Linked DNA regions of Homo sapiens: regions 2, 3 and 4 are each linked to region 1. Evidence: promoter capture Hi-C in human tissues and cell types (Jung and others, 2019). All regions are on one chromosome and are shown on one strand. Each heading gives the region's core, a stretch centred on a gene start or on the middle of the fragment in contact. The rest is flanking DNA. Distances are from core to core; before and after follow the strand shown.

Region 1 (3,003 bases), core at 271-2,770:
TTGCTCTTGTCTCCCAGGCTGGAGTGCAATGGTGCCATCTTGGCTCACCACAACCTCTGCCTCCCAGGTTCAAGTGATTCTCCTGCCTCAGCCTCTCAAGTAGCTGGGATTATAGGCATGTGCCACCATGCCCAGCTAATTTTGTATTTTTAGTAGAGACGGGGTTTCTCCATGTTGATCAGTCTGGTCTCGAACTATTGACCTCAGGTGATCTGCCCGCCTTGGCCTCCCAAAGTGCTGGGATTACAGGCGTGAGCACTGCACTCGGCCTTTTTCTTGAAACATAAAATTAGTCATTTTAATTTGCAATAATTTCTGTAGTTATTAAACAGGCTATTGAATCCATCCACAAAACTTAAGATACAATACTTAAGAACAGGGCTCTAAATAACAAGTGCCAGCTCTCTGATCTCATGGCCAACAACCTGAGATTCCTGCCATCTGGTCTCAGTTCAGGACCTTTGCACTTACTGTTAAACACCGCCCCCCCGGCCCCACCCCAGATCTCGCTTCTATCTGTCCTTTATTCAAATGTTACCTCTTCAGAGGGGCCTTCCATTATCACCCTTTCTAAAACAGCCTCGCTCTCACTTCCCATCCCTTTATTCTGCTCCATCGTTCTTCATTATGCTGGCCACTATCTCAAATTATCTTTTATTATTTATTTATTTATTTACTTTTGAGACGGAGTCGCTCTGTCGCCCAGGCTGGAGTGCAATGGCACGACCTCGGCTCACTGCAACCTCCGCCTCCCGAGTTCAAGCGATTCTCCCGCCTCAGCCTCCAGAGTAACCGGGCTTACAGGCGCGCACGGCCACGCCCGGCTAATTTTTGTATTTTTAGTAGAGACGGGCTTTCACCATGTTGGTCAGGTTGGTCTCACACTCCTGACCTCAGGTGATCTGCCCGCCTCAGCCTCCCAAAAGTTCTGGGATTACAGGCGTGATCCACCGCGCCTGGCCTCAAATTATCTTTATTCAGTTAAATGCTTTTATTGTCTCTCCCAGTACAATGTAAGCCCTAGCAGCAGAAGACTTTGCTTTAATCACGTGCTGTACCCCCAAAGCCCAGACAGTGCCTAGCACACACGAGATGCTCGATGAATAGTTATTGATTGAATAGATTAGACATCAACGCAATCAGGCTGTTCACCTAGGGACTCTTTGCTAGGCGGCGGAGAGGTACGTTACAGTTCTCTACGCAAAACGCATGCGCGAAAGATCCGGGAAGTGTGATCGGAAAGGGGCGGAGCATCAGGGAGAGTCTCGCGGACATAGGCGGTTCGGCGCGGAAAGCGGGAGGTGGAGGGGCGGCTTGGGGCAAGCGCGCGCGCGCAGTGCAGAAGCCAGCCCCCCGCGGCTGAGGTACTCAAGGTGCCCAAAGGCGGGGTAGTGACCTCGCGCGTGCGCTGTGCCCGCGGCAGCGCCGGGTCCTAGTGTGTGGGTTGTTGTTGGCACCGCACGGCGCGTGCGCAGTGAGGACGGCGGAGGGATTTGCGGCCGGGACCCACCCCCTGCTCCAGTCGCTATCGGAGGCCGCGCGGGTGGCTGAGCAGCGGCCTGGTGCGCTCGCTTAGCGGGCGACGGAATCAGACGGACGTGGACGCCCCCGGAGTGGAAGCCGAAGCAGGAGTTGTTGTTGCTGAGGGGCTGCCGCAGCCGCCGCGAGCCTCCGGACAGACGCCAGAGCGAGGAGGGCGCTACGCGGTGAGTGAGTGTGACTGAGTGGCCCGACGGGGTGCGGGGCCGCTACCCAGAAGCCCCAGCGGTGGGCCCGGTCCTCTTCCCCGCGGCCAGGCCCCTTTCCCGCGTCCCCGCCACAGGTCCCTTCTGCATCCCTTTCCCGGACCCCGAAATCTCTGGGCACCCACGCCCGCTTCCCACAGCGCCCTCGTGGTTCCCTACCCACAGGCCCTTGCGGTGTGTGGCCTTTTTTCTTTTTCGTTTGTCTATGTTGTCCTGGACCCTTACCCATAATTCCTTTCGCTTTTTGCGGGGTCCAGGTCTGTTACCCACAAGCACTTGGTTTTGGGGCTTCGCTCCTTATGTTTCTCTTTCTTTGCTTGGAAACTTCCGATCCCCAGGACCCTGCAAACTGCATCTCGTAATTTGCCCTCCACGGCACGGGACGAGCAGCCACAGCTGCTCTGGGCCTCCCTCCTCGGGTCCTTGATTTCCCCAGAAATTCCCAGGGAACCTCTCCGCCCCACAGCTCGTGTCAGAGGACTCTGAGACTTCACTCTTCAGGAACCCTTTTCCAGCCGTTATTTTTGTTTTCTTTACCGGCCTTTCACCTCCACCCCCACCAAGACGTACCCTTTTCTCCGCAACACAGGACTGTTCTCTGCCCTTACAGAGCCTGTTTTAATTCCGAGACTTTTCTCCTGTCTTTCTTATTTTGAGAGTCAAGGAGTAACAGGGGCTTTCTCTGTGCAGACCCGATCTAACCTAAGGCTGTCCTGCTTCTGCTCTCAGACTTGGCAAGATGACCCAGTTCCTGCCGCCCAACCTTCTGGCCCTCTTTGCCCCCCGTGACCCTATTCCATACCTGCCACCCCTGGAGAAACTGCCACATGAAAAACACCACAATCAACCTTATTGTGGCATTGCGCCGTACATTCGAGAGTTTGAGGTGAGTTCACTGAGCAGGCCAGGAATGGTTTGGGTTCTGGGGAGCAACGGGTTGGATTTGCGAGTCCAGCTTCTGGCCATTTTGCCAGCTGCGTGATTTAAGCGAGGGGCTTAACCTTTGTGATCCTCAGTTTCTCTGTTTTAAATGGGGTTGGAGCCGGGTGTCGGGTGTGGTCGAGTGCGTCTGTAGTCTCAGCTACTCAGGAGGCTGAGGTGGGAGGATTGCTTGAGCCCAGGAGTCGGAGGCTGGAGTGCTTTGTGATTGTGCCACTATACTCCGGCCTGGGTGACAGAGCAGGACTTCGTCTCTCAAAAAAAAAATTTTTTTTTTAAGTGGGGTTGTGGCCCGGTACGGTGGCTCACGCCTGTAATC
Region 2 (3,003 bases), core at 303-2,802, 390 kb after region 1:
GCTATCTGGGAGGCAGGAGAATTGCTTGAACCTGGGAGGCAGAGGGGGAGCTTGCAGTGAGCCAAGATCGTGCCACTGCACTCCAGCCTGGGCAACACAGCGAGACTCGGTCTCAAAAAAAAAAGAGAGAGAGAGAGGAGTCTTCTGGAAGGCTACAGAGATTCCCTAGAGGCAATAGGGCGATAGGGCAGGACACACATTGAGGGGCCCCAGGACTTGGTCAGGAAGGAGCTAGAGCAGGTCCTTTGTCCATGGGCCACATGAGCTATTGGGGCTTGTATCTCTGCCTCTCTGCTTCATTTAAATCTTTCTAGCCAGATGGAAGGTCTGACCATTGGGTGCGACAAGGCAGCTAACCCAGGCTGAACAGGAAGTGAGGCAGGCAGAGGGATCAGGGAAGGGAAATGGATGATGAAGGCCAGGACGGGCGAGGCTTTGCTGCAGTAACACATAACCCCCGAATCTGCGTGGGCCACAACCACAACATTAGTTTGTTGCTTACACTCCCTGTGCTCATCCGGGGCTGGCAGGATCCCTGTGCTCCTCCGAGTGGCACAGGAAACTTGGCTGATAGAGGCGCTCTCTCCATGCATCCTCCACCATCCACTCCCCGGTCCCTTAGACTTCCATTCAGAAGTGACACCTGTCACCTCCACCCTCATGTGACTGGCCAAAGTGAGTGTGGCCATGTCCGAGTTCCCCAGGATGGGACCTCGAATCCTCCTGCTGGGGGGGTGGGGGCAGCAGATGTTTCAGGACAGTCTGCCACGGATCAGATGGGTGAGCAAGAGATTCAGGATGGGCGTGATGGGTCACACCTGTAATCCCAGCATTTTGGGAGGCCGAGGCAGGCTGATCACCTGAGGTCAGGAGTTCGAGATCAGCCTGGCCAACATAGTGAAACCTCGTCTCTACTAAAAATACAAAAATTAGCCGGGCATGGTGGCACGCACCTGCAATTCCAGCTACTTGGGAGCCTGAGGCACAAGAATTGCTTAAGCCCAGGAGGCGGAGGTTGCCGTGAGCCGAGACTGTGCCACTGCACTCCAGCCTGGGCAACAGAGTGAGACCCCATCTAAAAAAAAAAAATGCTTCAGAGATTCAGAGATCCACAGATGTGGAAGAGAGCTTCTATTTTGTCTCATGTACCACCTCACCCCTCAGTTTGGAGTTGGAGAAGCCGAGGCTTAGAGAGGTCAAGGGGCTGGCCAAGCTCCCACAGTGATAAAGCTAGTGCTAGGGCGACACCTGCCAGGCCCAATGTGACAAGATGCATCCTGAGTCCTGTGTGCCAAGCCTTGGCGGGGCAAAGTTGGGGCCCGGAGGACGGTAAGACACAGCAACTGCGAGTTCCCAGAGACAGATCCGGGTTCCAGCCCCAGCTCACCATGCACTGGGCGTGCCACCCAGGGAGTCAGCCCCACTGCAGCCCCCGCTGCGGGGCGTCCGGAGAACGCGCCATCTGCGGCGTGAGCGGCCGCCTCTCACCACCAGGGGGCGCGCTCCGCCTGGGCCCAGATTCCACCCCTTGACTGTCTCCCCCCAAAAATTTCCTTTCACTTTCGGTCTCTGGCTGTCACCCGGCTTGGCCCCTTCCACACCCAACTGGGGCAAGCCTGGTGCGTGAGGAGACTTGGACTCTAGGTCCCCAAGGGGCGGAGCCAGGGTCCCCACTCCTGGGGCAGGGGGAGCAGAGGGTGGGGGGCTGGGTTCCCGGGTCCCTAACCTGGGGAGGGTTCTGGGGACCAGACGTCGAGGTTCTTAGAAGTGGAGATGAAGAGTTTTCACCGTAACTGGGGCAGACGCAGGAAGCCTGGGGGAGGAAGGGGCGGAAACTCAGCCACATCAATGGGACGCGGGAGGGGCGGGGAGGCAAAGGGGCGGGCAGGGCAGGGGCTGGGGCATGAGGGTCCGAGACTTGTTCTTCTGTCCCTTCCAAGACCCGGCGACAGGAGGCATGAGGGGCCCCCGGCCGAAATGACAGTGCTGGCGCCAGCCTGGAGCCCAACAGTGCGTAAACCCCAGGGACAAGATCAGGGGAGAGGGGAGGCACAATGTCAGGATGGGGCAGAGATGAGGGGAGATGGACGGGAGAACAGATGGACAGATGACGAGGAAATAGGAGGGGAGATGGACAGATGTGAGGGGAGATGGATAGGAGAGGAGACGGACAGAGGAGGGGGAGATGGACAGAGGATGGGGAGATGGACAGAGGAGGGGGAGATAGAGGAGAGGGAGATAGAGAGGAGTGGGAGATGGACAGGAGCGGGGAGATGGACAGAGGAGGGGGAGATGGACAGAGGAGAGGGCAGATGAACAGAGGAGAGGGAGATAAAGAGGAGGGAGGTGGACAGGAGGAGGGAGATGGACAGAGAAGGGGGAGATGGACAGAGGTGGGGGAGATGGACAGGAGGGAAGATGGAGAGGAGGGGGTATGGACAGAGGAGAGGGGAGATGGACAGGAGGGGGAGATGGACAGAGGAGAGGGAGATGAAGAGGAGGGGGAGGTGGACAGGAGGAGGGAGACGGACAGAGGAGAGGAAGAGAGACAGAGGAGGGGGGAGATGGACAGAGGAGGGGGAGATGGACAGAAAAGGGGGGAGATGGACAGAGGAGAGGGAAGGTGGACAGAGCCAAGAACAAATGAAGAGGACGTGGACCAAGATCAAGAGAGAAGCAGGCAACAGTGGTGTAGAAGGCAGAGGGAGGGACAGAGCTGGAGGAACCCGGGCGAGGAAACCAGACGTGAAGATGAGGTGGTTGGAGAGAGACCAGCAGAGTGGGGGAGATGGGGAGAGAGAGGGGTGGGGCAGAGGGGGATGCAAACTGGACAGCATTGGACCAGAGGCAGAGAGAAACCGGGAAAGACAGGCAGAGATGGGGCCATGTCTCCAGAAAGTGTGGAAGAGGCAGAAGGACACCCAGGGAAGGAGGAGCGGGGAAGACAGAACAGTACAGGTGGGAAGCCCGGAGGAGGGGGCTGTGTGTGGAACAGCAGAGGGC
Region 3 (3,003 bases), core at 242-2,741, 360 kb before region 1:
GCCATCCACAGCATGAGTGGCCGCAGCTCCACAGACACAGCTTCAGGAGTCAGGGGCACCTCGGGGACCCCCTCAGGGTGGCTTGAAAAAGAGGAAGGAATTTGTGATCCCTGCCCAACCCTCATCATAGTTTACAAACCCCAAGATCTAAGTCTAAGTGGGAGAGCAAGACCAACTCCCATTGCGCAGCTGGAAAAGTTGAGCGCAAGGAGAAGCAGAAACTTGCACTGGGGCATGCATGGGGTGAACACAGAACTAGACGCAAAACCCAACCCCTGCATCCCTCCAGACCACTCTGCTCAGAATTTCTCTTACTTTTCTGGCTGACGGTCTCCAATTTCCTTAATCTTTTCCTGTGGAACAGTAAGATCAGAATCAAGGTGAGGGGGATCCACTGAGGGGCTTAAGAGTTAATACCCTGGTTTTTATAGAAGCACAACTCTCATAGAGACTGGTCCTACTTTTCTTAGAGATGGGGTCTTACTATGTTGCCACCGGTGGTCTCCAACTCCTGAGCTCAAATGATCCTCCCACCTTGGCCTCCCAAAGAACTAGGATTACAGGCATGAGCCACTGCAACCGGCCTTCACTCTTCATACGGATTCTTTTTTTTTTTTTTTTTTTTTGAGATGGAGTTACCCTGTTGTTGCCCAGGCTGGGGTGCAATGGCTCAATTTTGGCTCACTGCAACCTCTGCCTCCCAGGTTCAAGTGATTCTCCTGCCTCAGCCTCCCAAGTAGCTGGGATTACAGGCATGTGCTACCATGCCCGGCTAATTTTTTGCATTTTTAGTAGAGACGGGGTTTCACCATGTTAGCCAGGATGGTCTCGATCTCCCGACTTCAGGTGATCTGCCCGCCTCGGCCTCCCAAAGTGCCGGGATTACAGGCATGAGCCACCACGCCTGGCTCTTGAGACAAATTCTAATCCCACAAGCTTTAGAATGGTCTCTCCTTACTTTTTAAAACATACACACCCTATGATTATGAGTGATCTAGCTCCTTCAGGTCCTCTTCTCCAATTTTTACCCCCAAGAAACTCCTTAAACCTCTCTGGTTAGGCCCTAGCTCAATAGGATGGAACGTTTCCCCCACTCTGAATGGTTTCTTTCTGGAACTTCCATCTGTAGGTCCAGTGGATTTGTGCTTCCTCGCCTCCAAGAATGAACTCGCTCACTGCTATCCAAGCTCCAAGCCCAATGGGCTGCGGTGAATTCTCACACTGATCTCTGTCAACTTCTCATCCAGTGGGATCTCTCCCCCACCATCTCCCATAATGGTTTCTTCCTAAGGTGAGTTCGTGCTTAGGTGAGCTCTCCTAAGGTGAGTTTGGGCTTCCCTCTAAGTGCAGTGGATCTACATCTCCCAGCATTCTATGGGGGGGCCCCTTGCTTAATAACCCCAAAACACCGGGTGTGGTGGCTCACACCTGTAATCCCAGCACTTTGGGAGGCCGAGGCGGGCGAACCACGAGGTCAGGAGTTCCAGACAAGCCTGGCCAATATGGTGAAACCCCGTCTTACTAAAAATACAAAAAATTAGCCGGGCGTGCTGGCAGGCGCCTGCAATCCCAGCTACTCGGGAGGCTGAGGCAGAAGAATCATTTGAACCCCGGAGGTAGAGGTTGCAGTGAACCAAGACCGCCACTGCACTCCAGCCTGGGTAACAGAGCGAGACTCCGTCTCAAAAACAAAAGCAAACAAACAAACAAACAAAACCCAAAACCCCAAATCCTTCCCGAGGCGTCATGGGAACAGTAGTATCCAGCCCAGCTATGAAAAGGGTTGAAGGTAGGGAAGGGAGGCTGGAGAAGGGACTTGGGGCGCTGGTGGGGCTGGACGGCGATTGGGGGGCGCTCACCCAGACGGCCTCCTTGATGAGCCGGGCCAGGCGGCCCAGCAGTCGTGGCAGGTGGCCCAGCTCCAGCTCACGGGCGGAATGCTGCACGCACAGCGCCAGCAGCGTGGCGGGCCCGAGGGGCGGCAGGTCTCCCGAGCCGGCGGCTGCGGCGCGCACGATCTCGCCCAGCAGCGCCTCCTCCTCGCGCGGCCGGAAGCGCAGGACTGGCTCACGGCCGTCCAGGTAGGCGGCCAGTGCCTCGCCGCGCTCCTGCAGGCCGCGGCCGCACAGGCGACAGGAGAAGGCCCAGCCAGGGCCTGGCGGCGTGGCCCCGGGGCGCGCGGGCAGCCACGGCGGCCTCGCAGGCCCCGAGCCCCCAGTGCGGGGGTCCTTGTACATGAACAGGAAGTGCTCGCCCAGCCCCAGGAGGTCGCCCGGGTGCAGCTCAGCCTCCCGCAGCAGGAGGCACCCGTTGTGCGTGACTGGGGCGCCCCGGGACGGGCGCACCATGGCCGGGTGCTCAGGGCCCGCGCGCACTGTGCAGTGACGCGGCAGGATGTCCGGGGCGTTGAGGAAGGTGTCCACATAGGGAGCCGGGGACCCCCCGCGGCCAGACGAGTTCCCACCTCGCCCAAACACGTGCTGCTCTCGCGTCATCACATACACCACAAAGTCCTGGAGGGGAAACGAGGATGCACTAAGGACATCACTTCAATCCATATCTTCAGATCTGTTCTCTCTGTTTTCTACAACAACTTTTCTATTCCCACCAACTTTTTTTTTCCTTCTTCTTCTTTTTTTTTTTTTTTTTTTTTTTGAGATGGAGTCTCGCTCTGTCCTCCAGGCTGGAGTCCAGTGGCACGATCTCGGCTCACTGCAACCTCTGCCTCCTGAGTTCAAGCAATTCTCCTGCCTCAGTCTGTTGAGTAGCTGGGAGTACAGGCGCCTGCCACCACACCCGGCTAATTTTTGTATTTTTAGTAGGGAAAGGGTTTCACCATGTTGGCCAGGCTGGTCTTAAACTCCTGATCTCAGGTGATCCACCTACCTCGGCCTCCCGAAGTGCTGGGATTACAGGCGTGAACTATCGCGCCCGGCCCCCCACCGACTTTGAATAGACACTCCAAGGAGATCTGGATCTCAAAGGACTCTCTAAGCACCCGCA
Region 4 (3,003 bases), core at 298-2,797, 320 kb after region 1:
AGTGTGGGAATGTCCCTGAGGTTATATCACACTGTGAGAACAGCCGTGGTTTACAAGAGTGTGAGGCATGGGGTCAGCCTACATGGCTTCAGGCTGAGGCCACCTACATAAGAGTGGACCAGTGCCTCCCTTCTCTGTGCCTCAGTTGCCTCACCTATAAAGATGAACAAAACAATGGCATCTGCCTCAGTGGTTTGTGTGAGACTTCAACCGAAGGATACTTGCAAAGTCTTGGGCACAAGGTAGGACACATAGGATGTGCTCACTAAAAGTTATCTAGCATTGTTTCTATATTAGTATTTTTTACAGTGAATAAAACAGCCAGGCACAGTGGCTCATGCCTGGAATCCCAGCACTTCGGGAGGCCTAGCTGGGTGGACCCCTTTAGCCTAGGAGTTCGAGACCATCCCGGGCAACATGGCAAAACCTTGCCTCTACAAAAAATAGAAAAATAAGCCAGGCATGGTAGTGTGCACCTGTAGTCCAGCCACTCAGGAGGCTGAGGTGGAAAGACTGCACGAGCCCGGGAGACAGAGGTTGCAGTGAGCCAAGATTGCATCATGGCATTCCAGCCTGGATGACAGAGCGAGAGCCTCTCAAAAAAAAAAAAAAAAAAAAAATTGGATTTGAAGTCAACCTTGAGTTCAAATCCCATCTCCGCCACTTACACAATAGGCAACCTTTAAGCATGTGACTTCTCCTTCTCAAGCCTTTACTTTTAGTTTCTTTTTTTTTTTTTTCTTTTTTTTTTTTTTGAGACAGAGTTTCATTCTTGTTGCCCAGGCTGGAGTGGAATGGCGCGATCTTACCTCATGGCAACCACCGTCTCCCGGTTCAAGTGATTCTTCTGCCTCAGCCTCCCAAGTAGCTGGGATTACAGGCATGTGCCACCACACCTGGCTAATTTTGTTTTTTTGTTGGTTGGTTGGTTTGTTTGTTTTAGTAGAGACGGGGTTTTTCCATGTTGGTCAGGCTGGTCTCAAACTCCCGACCTCAGGTGATCTGCCCACCTCAGCCTCCCAAAATGCTGGGATTACAGACATGAGCCACCACACCTGACCTACTTTTATTTTCAAAGAACTGGAAGAAGGGTATCTGTTCAGTAGGCTTGTTTTGAGGATTGACAGCATTTCACTGAGGGACTAGCAAACAATATGAAGAGACTGAGTTCAGCTTCACATTTAATTCAAGCCCCGTTCCATCCAAGACAGAAAAACATCATCTTAGTTCATTCTGGGCCCACCTAATTTTTTTTAGATTGAAACAAACTCATCAATTGACAATGAAACCTGTCACCACCCCCGACCTCAAGGTGGTATCTAAGTTGCAGGAGACTGATGCAGGAGCCTAGTGCTCTAGGAGGCTGCTGATCCTCACTCAATGTTTCTCCTCTCTGCTGTTCATGAGATTGATGGGTTTTGTCCAAGCGTTTGTCACCACTGTGTGCTGGCATCTACTGTGAGGCCCGCATTGCCTTTGGATCTCTGGACATACCATCTTCTTCATCTTCTGGTGGTGATCCCTTATCTGGGCTGGGACTCTTACTCCACCACTTCCACACCCTTCCAGAGCCAGGGAGGTGATTTGGCTACTTTCCTGTGAAAGGGAAGAGGCTGGGGTCACTGCCCAAAGCCCCTGCCTCATTTCCCCAGGCCAGGGTGGGTGCTCATGGTGGGGAGATGTGGCTTCTCTGGGGAAAGAGAAACAGGAGAGAGATTCCTCTGTTCTCCCTGAGCTGTTAGCAAAGTCCCTGTCCGTCACTCATTTCCCTGAAGGATCCCAAACCCCACCCAGGCCTTGACAGACTGGAGGACACAGGGCTGGGGTGGGCAGAGGTCTGGAGAGGACCCACCAGTGAGGCCTCTTTGCTTTCACAAGAAAGTAGCATCTCTATTATTCTCACACCGTGATGATTCTGAGAGTGCTCTGGGAAGTACACGCAAGGCCTCTCAGATCACAAGACTTCCAGGGCTCTGCGGTTCTCCATCCATACCCTCCACCCCTCATAGCTAGCCCTGGGTTAGGGGAAAACTCTGGGCTCATTTTCAGCCTATTCTCTTCTCTGTCTGTCCTGCATTCCTCCCCCAGCTCTAAGGATCTCTGCCTAGTCCAGACAGATCATGTATTCCCAAAAAATATCTTTGTCCTACATGTGCAGTGTTTTTTACACTGAAATCCAAAATCTTTCTGCTATTTTCTGGCTCTTCCATGAAAACTCACCCCCTTGGGGCAATGGGAATCTCACAGCAGGATGGCTGTACCATGTGAGACATGGAATGCAGCAGGATGTGACAGTTTCTTTCAGAACATCCCTTTTTAAGAATGAAAAAGTTGCCAGGCGCAGTGGCTCACGCCTGTAATCCCAGCACTTTGGGAGGCCGAGGTGGGTGGATCACCTGAGATCAGGAGTTCGAGACCAGCCTGGCCAACACGGTGAAGCCCCATCTCTACTAAAAATAAAAAAATCAGCCGGGTGTGGTGGCACACACCTGTAATCCCAGCTACTCGGGAGGCTGAGGCAGGAGAATCGCTTGAACCCAGGAGGCAGAGGTTGCAGTGAGCCAAGATGGTACCAGTGTACTCCAGTCTGGGCGACAGAGCAAGACTCAGTCTCAAAAAAAAAAGGAAAAGAAAAACTTTCCGGCTGGGCATGGTGGCTCACACCTGTAATCCCAACACTTTGGGAGGCCAAAGCAAGATTGCCTAGGCCAGGAGTTCGAGACCAACCTAGGCAACATAGTGAGAGCCCGTCTCTATAAAACAAAAAAAAACAAAAAAAGTAAATAAAAGAATGAAAGGCCAGGCACAGTGGCTCACGCTTGTAATCCCAGCATCTTGGGAGGCCGAGATGGGTGGATCATTTGAGGTCAGGAGTTCGAAACCAGCCTGACCAACATGGTGAAACCCCACCTCTACTAAAAATATAAAAATTAGCCAGGCGTGGTGGCAGGCGTCTGTAATCCCAGCTACTTGAGAGGCTGAGGCAGGAGAATCACTTGAACC

What was found. The method cuts DNA at HindIII sites, captures the fragments that hold promoters and counts their contacts. A contact is called where the count stands out against the background at its distance.
Region 2: the fragment with the promoter of FLT3LG here is called in contact with the fragment with the promoter of SNRNP70 in region 1 in 1 of the 25 tissues and cell types used here (adrenal gland).
Region 3: a fragment that was not itself captured here is called in contact with the fragment with the promoter of SNRNP70 in region 1 in 1 of the 25 tissues and cell types used here (dorsolateral prefrontal cortex).
Region 4: a contact is called between a fragment that was not itself captured here and the fragment with the promoter of SNRNP70 in region 1, in 2 of the 25 tissues and cell types used here (dorsolateral prefrontal cortex and liver).

What each region holds. Positions count from the first base shown.
Region 1 is chr19:49,083,931-49,086,933 of GRCh38, forward strand. It overlaps SNRNP70 (small nuclear ribonucleoprotein U1 subunit 70), which reads left to right and starts at 1,521. Exons shown (of 10, transcript NM_003089.6): 1 at 1,521-1,706; 2 at 2,475-2,631. The coding sequence starts at 2,485. RefSeq lists enhancers at 1,197-1,266, 1,617-1,706. The HindIII fragment of the contact is 18,802 bases long and covers 1-3,003 here.
Region 2 is chr19:49,472,663-49,475,665 of GRCh38, forward strand. It overlaps FLT3LG (fms related receptor tyrosine kinase 3 ligand), which reads left to right and starts at 1,553. Exons shown (of 9, transcript NM_001459.4): 1 at 1,553-1,619; 2 at 1,941-2,010. The coding sequence starts at 1,978. RefSeq lists a silencer at 1,932-2,011. The HindIII fragment of the contact is 13,748 bases long and covers 1-3,003 here.
Region 3 is chr19:48,727,078-48,730,080 of GRCh38, forward strand. RASIP1 (Ras interacting protein 1) reads right to left here. Exons shown (of 12, transcript NM_017805.3): 5 at 1,860-2,513; 6 at 316-353; 7 at 1-81. LOC124904737 (a long non-coding RNA gene) reads left to right here and starts at 1,067. Exons shown (of 2, transcript XR_007067286.1): 1 at 1,067-1,291. The HindIII fragment of the contact is 9,581 bases long and covers 1-3,003 here.
Region 4 is chr19:49,399,628-49,402,630 of GRCh38, forward strand. The region is part of intron 9 of KASH5 (KASH domain containing 5); the gene reads left to right. Among named protein-coding and RNA genes, the nearest start is that of KASH5, 13 kb to the left of the region's middle. The HindIII fragment of the contact is 8,336 bases long and covers 1-3,003 here.